Linked DNA regions of Homo sapiens: region 2 is linked to region 1. Evidence: promoter capture Hi-C in human tissues and cell types (Jung and others, 2019). All regions are on one chromosome and are shown on one strand. The core of a region is centred on a gene start or on the middle of the fragment in contact, and the rest is flanking DNA. Distances in the headings are between cores, read along the strand shown.

Region 1 (4,356 bases), core at 571-3,070:
ACAGGTGACTTTCCATCCCTTGAGCCAAGGCATGTGAGCTCTTGGCTCCCGCCTGTTGTGACCACTCCAACCAGATATTGGCACAAATACTACTATGTCAGAGTTGTAGCCAATTTCTTAATGTAGGTGCTGATTTCCTTAATGATTTCTCCCATCTCTCCTTTTTTTTTTTTTTTTTTTTTTGAGACGGAGTCTCACTCTGTCCTCTGTCTCCCAGGCTGGAGTGCAGTGGCACGATCTCAGCTCACTGCAACCTCTGCCTCCTGGTTTCAGGCAATTCTCTGCCTCAGCCTCCCAAGTAGCTGGGATTACAGGCACCCGCCACCATGCCCAGCTAATTTTTGTATTTTTAGTAGAGACGGGGTTTCACCATCTTGGTCAGGCTGGTCTTGAACTCCTGACTTCCTAATCCACCCACCTCTGCCTCCCAAACTGCTGGGATTACAGGCGTGAGCCACCACGCCCGGCCCCCATCTCTCCTCTTTAGGGTGGCTCATTGGGATCCATTTTGTTAACACCAACAATTAGTTTCACACCCAGCGTGTAAGACAGAAGGGTGTGCTCACGCGTCTGCCCATTCTTGGAATTACCAGCTTCAAATTCATCAACACCAGCAGCAACAATCAGGACAGCACAATTAGCCTGAGGTCAGGTTTTTGATAAAGTCTCTGCATCCTGGGCCATTGAGGATGGTCACATAGTACTTGCTGGTCTCAATTGCCAGCAGGGAGGTATCAGTGGTGATACCACTCTCACGTTCAACTTTCAGCTTACCCAAGACCCAGGTATGCTTGAAGGAGCCCTTTCCCATCTCAGCAGCTTCCTCAAAATTGTCGATGGTTCTTTTGTGGATCCCACCACACTTGTAGATCAGATGGCCAGTAGTGCTGGACTTGCCCAAATCAGATGATGATGTTGAGCTGAGTCTTTTCCCTCCCCTGCTCCCTTTCTTTTGAGATGGAGTCTCACTCTGTTGCCCAGGCTGGAGTGCAGTGGTGTGATTGCAGCTCACTGCAGCCTCAACCTCCTGGGCTGAAGCCATCAGCCAGCTCAGCCCCTGGAGTAGCTGGAATTACAGGCGTGCGCCACCACGCCCAGCTAATTTTTGTATTTTTAGTAGAAACGGGGTTTCACCATGTTGGCCAGGCTGGTCTTGAACTCCTGACCTCAAGTGATCCACCTGCCTCCACTGCCCAAAATGCTGGGATTACAGGCGTGAACCACCGCGCCAAACCCCCATTTTGGCTTTGATTTAACGGTGGTTTTCACGACACCTGTGTTCTGGCAGCAAACCCATCGCAAAAAAGCTCCACTGCCCTACACAGATTCTATTATAAACATCTCCATTCTACAGATGAGAAACTGAGGCTGAGTAGTTAAGGGAAACTCCTACAGCTAGTAAGAGTCGTGACTCAGAGCCCATGACACCATCCTGCTTCTCCAACCTTCTTTGCTTCCTCTACTTTCCAGAAAACATGAATTAGGGAATCCTGTGGAGGGAGACAGGGAAATAATTTGACGTTGTCCTGTACATACTGGACACAATAAGAGTTGGGTGGATGAACGAAAGCAGGGATTTAGGAAGCGGGGAGAAGTCGTTTGGAAGTCTGTGACAAGGGTTTACGCTTGGATAGGGTGGGCTTGATCACCCGGCAGAAATGAGACGAGTGATCCCAGCCTTCCCAACCAATCTTTCCAGTGACCTGGGTTTACGCTTCACCACAGAGAAGGAACTTTTCAGACGCTCCCTTGGCCGCGCACCCGGGATCGGAACAGCGCTGTCACTTGCGACAAAATCCCTAGGCCAGAGGAAGAAGAGCGCAGGCCTGGCGAGGCGGCGGCGGGCGGAGGCTGGGCCGGAGGGGTGGGGACGGCGAGGAGGTGGAGGCCGGCGCTCCGCTCCGCTCCAGCTCGGTTTCATGTCCCGCCAGGCGAAGGATGACTTCCTGCGGCACTACACAGTGTCGGACCCCAGGACTCACCCCAAGGGCTACACCGAGTACAAAGTAACCGCGCAGGTGAGGTGGGGCCCAGCGCGTACTTTACCCTTTTAACTAGAGGGGCGCCGAGTTTTACCTTAAGGAAAGGCGGTGCAGCCACTGCTCCCTTTTTAGACGACAGAAATGGGTTTCCCCTTTAAGGGGAGGTTGCAGTACGAGGCTTAGTTTACATCTTTAACCACCAGGGGGCGGGGTCCTGGGTGGGCGCTGTCTTTTTTAAAAGGGCGTTGACGGCCGTTCCCGGACAGGCAAGGCGTGTATGCCCACGCCCGGAGTGTAGTGTCTGGGCATCAGGCTGTGAATTTCTCTAAATTAACATGAAAACTCTGGTTTAATCCAAATATTAGTACTCCATTCTCGTAGAGTAAGTTTTGTTTATTGGTTTGTTTGATGTTACATAAACTCCCTTTAACGAGTTTAACCATTTTTAATTTTTCAAAAAATAATACTGATCAGTGGTTGAAAAAAATTGATGCAGTTCAGAAGGACTTAAGGAGTAAGTCGCCATATCAAGGTCACAGCAGGAAGATAGATAGGCTAGAGTTGATATATGAAGCGATAACAACATCATAAGCACAATTTATAGAGAGACATGGAGGAAACCATGACAATAATTAAAAATGAAACAGTAAAACAGGACACCTGTAGAATGATAACAAGAACTGGTAACAAGGAAGGTCCCCAGGGAGAGGAACTGTGTCACTGGGGACAGGAGTTAGGGGAAGACTTTTTACTGTAAATTTTTTGTACTTTTAGAATTTTCAACCAGGCGACTATTAAGCTGGTGCATTAGTTAACTCTAAAAGCAAAGCAGGCACATAAGGACACTTCCAAAGTGATCTAAGTGCAGAATCTTAGCTATTTAAAATATGCTTTCCCCAAACCGTTTACGTCTTTTCCATGCCTAAAAATAATGCAAATAAGGCCGGGCTCAGTGGCTCATGCCTGTAAATCCCAGCACTTTGGGAGGCTGAGGCAGCAGATTGCTTGAGCTCAGGAGCTCAAGACGAGCCTGGGCAACATAGTGAGACCCCGGATCAATATTAAAATACAGACACACACACAACTTTAAAAAAAAAAAAAAAAAAAGCAAATAAATAGATTGTCCCTGGGAAGATAGACTGGAGGTGGGGCTGGGGTGGGGAGGATGTGGCAAGGAACTGTAACCTTTTATTATAAGTCTTCCCAGTGGTGGCCGGGCGCGGTGGCTCACGCCTGTAATCCCAGCACTTTGGGAGGCCGAGGCGGGCGGATCACGAGGTCAGGAGATCGAGACCATCCTGGCTACCATGGTGAAACCCCATCTCTACTAAAAATACAAAAACTTACGGGCGTGGCAGCGTGCACCTGTAGTCCCAGGTACTCGGGAGGCTGAGGTAGAAGAATGGAGTGAACCCGGGAGGTGGAGCTTGCAGTGAGCCGAGATTGTGCCACTGCACTCCAGCCTGGGAGACAGAGCGAGACTCCGTCTCAAAAATATAAATAAATAAATAAATAAATAAATAAATAAAAATAAGTCTTCCCAGTGGCTTTTTTGTGTCGTTGTTTTGTTTTGTTTTTGAGACAGAGTCTCACTGTCGCCCAGACTGGAGTGAAGTGACTCGATCTCAGCTCACTGCAAACTTCCGTCGCCCGGGTTCAGATTCTCCCACCTCAACCTCCCAGGTAGCTGGGACTACAGGCACGCGTCACCATGCCCAGCTAATATTCGTATTTTTTGGCAGAGATGGGGTTTCACCATGTTGGCCAGAATGGTCTCGATCTCTTGACCTCATGATCCACCCGCCTTGGCCTCCCAAAGTGCTGGGATTACAGGTGTGAGCCACCACACCCGGCCTCCCATTGGCTTTTTAAACCAAGCAACATGCATTACTTTGATATATTTTTATACATATTATATAATACAATGTATTATATATAATAAATATAAAATATAAAGCACATAATATATAAATATATGTATGTATATATTTTTTGAGACGGAGTCTTGCTCTGTCGCCCAGGCTGGAGTACAGTGGTGTGATCTCAGCTCACTGTAGCCTCCACCTCCTGGGTTCATGCAGTTCTCCTGCTTCAGCCTCCTGAGTAGCTGGGATTATAGGCGTGTGCCACCACACCCGGCTACTTTTTGTGTTTTTAGTAGAGACGGGATTTCACTGTGTTGGCCAGGCTGGTCTCGAACTCCTGACCTCAAGTTATCCTCCCACCTCGGCCTTCCCAAGTGCTGGAATTACAGGTGTGAACCACCGCGCCTGGCCTATATTTTTATTTTATTTTATTTTATTTGCGACGGGGTCTTGCTCTGTCACCCACGCTGGTGTGCAGTGGCATGATTCACGTCTTACTGCAGCCTCAA
Region 2 (4,422 bases), core at 1,746-4,245, 1.3 Mb after region 1:
TTCCGCGAAGCTTACAGGGATGGGAAGGGAAGTGTCTGAAGAAAGGAGCAACTCACCCACTAGACCCCTCCTTCACTCCTCTGAATCACCAGCCCCAGAGCCTACTTTGACCCCTAAACCCCAGTCCGGTTCAGCAGATGCCCTAATTCCACAACCGTCCCCCAGATTCAGCCCCACCTTCTTGGAGCTTTGGTAAAATAAGGAATAAATATGAAATTCTCCCCATGCCAAACCTCCCACTGCTGGGCTCAACTGTGTGACCTTGGGCAAGGCTCTGCCCTCTCTGGGCTCCTGCTTCCCTGAGAATCTCTGAGGCATACCCTCCCTTAAAGGGATCTTACCTTATCTCTTTGAGGACTCAGACAAACTGAAGGAAGATCCCCTCCTTTTTGCTGAGTCCTCCCAGAACCTCCCTTAAGCACCAGTGGGGGTCAGAAGCCTTGGGTAAGGTTGACACCCCATTTATTGGAGAAGACCCCAGCACCCGCCCCCTGAGGTCTTAAGGGCTTTGGTGTATCCTTGGTCACGAGCGCTGGGCCAGGAAGCAGAGTTCCTGAGAGCCAAGTCTAGTGGTTGAGAGAGGACCCTGGCTGGGCCTGGGGAGCAGGAAGCCATCTGTCCAGCTGGGCAGCCCCCATGGGTCCCTGGTGCAGCCCCGGCCATGTGTCCAGCGCCCCATACTCCATGAGGGGGGTCTGCACCCCATCACACGCTGGTTCTGCAGGTCTGCACCCCTGTGAGGCTGCCCCTGGGGGGCATGGGTTCTGTTGGGCTCTTGCTCCCAGCATGGATGACCCAGCGATAGCAGTCAGTGATGCGCTTGTTGGGTGCATGGGGGCCACAGCGGGTGCAGTACACGATGCCCAGTGCAAGCAGGACCACCAAAAAGACACACGTTGGCACCAGGAGTGCCACCAGCAGCCACCGGTCATCCCTCTGGCTGTGCTCGGCAAGACCAGCCTCCCCCAGGGCTGTTGGGGCTGCTGTGGGAGCTGGTGAGGGCAGCCACAGGGCCAACTTGGGACTGGGGCCATCTTCCCTTGGGATTTGGGGGGCTTTGGAATGGGGATGTGTAGGGCTGATGGGTGAGGTCTGGTTAGTGGGGCTCTGAGAGGGCAGGAGGGTGGGGAGGGCTGCGGGCTGGGTGGCAGCAGGCACAGAGATTTGATGGGCAGGAGACACAGGGGACCTGGAGGTGGTGGTCAGAGAGGGCTGGGCAGTTGGGATAATGGGAAGCTGGGTGGCCTGGGTTCTGAGGACAAGGGCATCTGGGGCTTGAGGGGGTAGCTGGGCACCGAGGGTGGTGACCAGAGGGGCATGGTTAGGTGGGATTCCAGGCAAATGAGTGGTGGTCTGGGTGCCAGCGACCCGGGTGTCTGGAAACATGGGGGACTGGTGGGCAGGGAAGAGCTCCGGATATTTGGTTGAGATCATAGGGGGCTGGTGGGCAGGAGGCTGTGCTGAATGAGAGACAGAGAGAATACCGGGTTGGTAGGCAGAAGGCAGATCTGGATAGTTGGCTGCGATCACGGGGATCTGGTGGTCACGGGACAAAGCTGGGTGTGTGGCAGGGATCACAGGAGGCTGGTGGGCAGAAGGCAGTGTGGGATGCGTGGCAGAGACCACCACAGGCCGGGTGACGGAGAGCACTGAGGAGTGGTAGGGGACCCTGGGGGCACTGAGCGGGGGTGGCCAGGTGGGCTCCGGGTAGGGTATCTGTGGCTCTCTGTCCTCTGGGAAGCTCGGTCTATAGGCCAGGGCAAAGTCAGGCGGCTGCGTAGGCTCCATCCACAGGATCCCAGGCATCTCCGTCCAGCCACCGTTGAAGGCCTTCCAGGCCTCGTCTTCATCTTCCTCATCCTCCCCGTCATCCAGCAACTCATCTCCGAGGTCCTGGGAAGCCTGGGCACCCATGGCCCCTGCAGGGCTGCAGCTGATGCCATCAGCCTCCAGCTCATGTCCCTCGCTACAATAACACTCGAAGCCACCAACGTAGTTGACACACATCTGCTGGCACACACCGGCAATCTGGCACTCATCTGTGTCCACACAGCGGTGCGGATCATCCTCCGCTGGCCGGAAACCCAGGCGACAGTGGCAGCTGTAGCCTTGTGGCCCACCGGGCTCACACTGCTGCTCGCACGGAGCCTGGGCACAGGGGTCCTCGCAACTGCGCCCGTCTGCTGCCAGCCGGAAGCCCTCAGTGCAGCGGCAGGACACGTGACCATCCACCTCCTCCACACATTCGTGTTCGCAGCCCCCGTTGTCAGGGCTGCAGCCAGTCCCCAGGCACAGGGGCCCAGCCCGTGACCAGCCCACACCTCCCTCAGGCTGCTTCACGCAGAGCAGAGAGGCTCCCCTGCCAGCCTGGCACTGCACAGCGGCCACAGAGCCGAAGGGCAGCCACTCAAACTCTGTGGAGACCAGGTGGAAGGGCGTGGTATACACGGCTGGGCCGGCCTGGCCCGCCTCATCTTGCAGCGCCGGGCAGGCGCCCTCGAAGCCAAACTGGCACAGGTAGCCGTCGACAGCCAGCGTGCACGAGCCCTCCAGCCAGCGGTGCTCGCCACTTGCCTCCAGGGCCACACAGCGCTGGGCCGGGCAGGGGCCTCCAGAGGCTGGCTGGGCCCAGTTGGTGAAAGCCGTGTCCTGGTCCCCTGTGGTCCACGTGAAGCCGCGCAGTGGGCGCTGCAGCTGGCATTGCCGGGCCTGCCGCTGCAGCCCGATCCACAGCAGCCGGCTGGCTGGGCCCGCACCCACCAGGCTGTCCACACGCTGGGCCTCCTCGGGGGTCCGAGGAGTGGCCAGGTCGCCCCCCAGCTCGCGGCAGGCCCGCCAGGCCTCCAGGAAGGTGCGGCGCCGTGGGAAGAGAGCGTAGCAGCTGCTGGGGCCGCAGGCGGCACGGGGCTCAGCAGCCCAGGGGTCCTGGCCCAGTGTGGGCCCTGCGGCCGCCCAGGCCAGCAACAGGCGCAGCAGCATCGCGATGCCCCCGGACTGGTCCGGCCCCGGGCTGGCGGCAGCTCTTGACAGGGGGAGGGCCTGGGGCCTCCTGCGGGCGGGCCGGGGGCGGGCCTGGGGCCGGGCTCAGGCCTTGTAAGGAGTGGGCTGGGGCGGCTGCCAGCTCCCTGCTCCCTCTTCCCCGGGGGCCGCTAGAGCAGGAAGCAGTGGGGTGGGGGGCTCTAAGGTTGGGGGCGGAGGAGGGGAGAAGGCGCAGTTGACGGCTGCCCCAGGCCCCATGGGGCTGAGAGTCAGGGGGTGGGAAAAGCCTGCCTGCCGAGCTCTGTGACCCTCAAGTTGGGGCTCGGGGCTGTGGGGTGAGGTCGCTTCCCAGAGACTCAGAGACCCAAATCTGGACACAGCAGCCCCATCACACCCGGGAGCAGTCTCAGCCCAGCTGCTCGCCATGCACGGGAACACCCTCATGCCCACTCCTTTCTTGCCCCACAGACGCGCGCATGCGCCTCCCCCACCCCCAACCCCATGCAAGAGTGCACTCTCTGCCAAGCTGTTTGTCCCTTCACCTCACCGTGGACCTATGCTGGCTTGCAGATGACTCCCTTGCCACACGTACACACATTCTGACATGCTGAGACCCTAGGTGCACATACAAAAATGGTGTGGCATTCTACATGGCCTGACATATGAAGACCTCCGATTCGGCCTGAATGGAAACAGCTTGGTCACCCAGGCACAGGCATCCTCAGCCTCTCATTTATTTACTGAGCCCCTGCGTCAGCCTCTCCCCCTATACTCAAGCTTTCTGGTTCCAGCTGGGCCAGCGTGTGGGGGTGTTGGGGGAGTGAGGGGGCCAGGGGCTGCCCTCCCCTCACCCCAGCTCAGCCTGGGGCCCTGGGAACCTGGGCTTAGAGGGGGAGGAGGCAGCCCCTAAACAGGAAATGCCTCTCTGGGCTCCTGCGTCAGGAAGGCAGGGTGCGTGGTTTAGGGGGCTGGGTGGGGGCTGGGCTGCACGCAGGATGTGGAAGGCTGTGAGGGGACCCATGCAAGGCCATGTATGGGCATGGGGCACACAGTGACATATATGTGTATATGTGACACAGGCATCACGTGTGTGGAGCCCTCCCTGCCCCCGGGGCCTGCTGTTTCGGCCTGGCCAGGGTCCTCTTCCCGCCCTTCCTGGAGGCCTCTGGAGGCATGTGCACTGAGCCCATCATCCAGGATGGCCTCTGGGGAGCTGGCTGGCGGATTAACCCATGCACACCCGCTGCACTCTTAGCAGAAGTTAGAAACAGTGTGGGGAGGTGGGGGAGAGGTTCCGCCCTTCAGTAAACTGCCCTGATGCAGCTTCCCCCTCTGCCACAGATGGATCGACTTTGTGACTGCAGGGGAGTCACTGGCCCTCTCTGGGTCTCCTTTTTTCTCAGTTGCAACATGAGGGCAATGAGTCCAGGATTTTTAGCTCAG

What was found. Contacts are between HindIII fragments. The study calls those that stand out against the background at their distance.
Region 2: a contact is called between the fragment with the promoter of CD248 here and the fragment with the promoter of SNX15 in region 1, in 1 of the 25 tissues and cell types used here (spleen).

Annotation. Positions count from the first base shown.
Region 1 is chr11:65,025,619-65,029,974 of GRCh38, forward strand. It overlaps SNX15 (sorting nexin 15), which reads left to right and starts at 1,821. Exons shown (of 8, transcript NM_013306.5): 1 at 1,821-2,018. The coding sequence starts at 1,920. ARL2-SNX15 (ARL2-SNX15 readthrough (NMD candidate)) reads left to right here. Exons shown (of 11, transcript NR_037650.2): 4 at 1,700-2,018. It also overlaps the pseudogene EEF1A1P18. RefSeq lists an enhancer at 1,639-1,933 and a silencer at 1,783-1,952. The HindIII fragment of the contact is 29,710 bases long and covers 1-4,356 here.
Region 2 is chr11:66,314,049-66,318,470 of GRCh38, forward strand. CD248 (CD248 molecule) reads right to left here and starts at 2,996. Exons shown (of 1, transcript NM_020404.3): 1 at 446-2,996. The coding sequence starts at 2,979. The coding sequence ends at 706. RefSeq lists an enhancer at 1,745-2,441 and a silencer at 2,925-3,194. The HindIII fragment of the contact is 8,045 bases long and covers 1-4,422 here.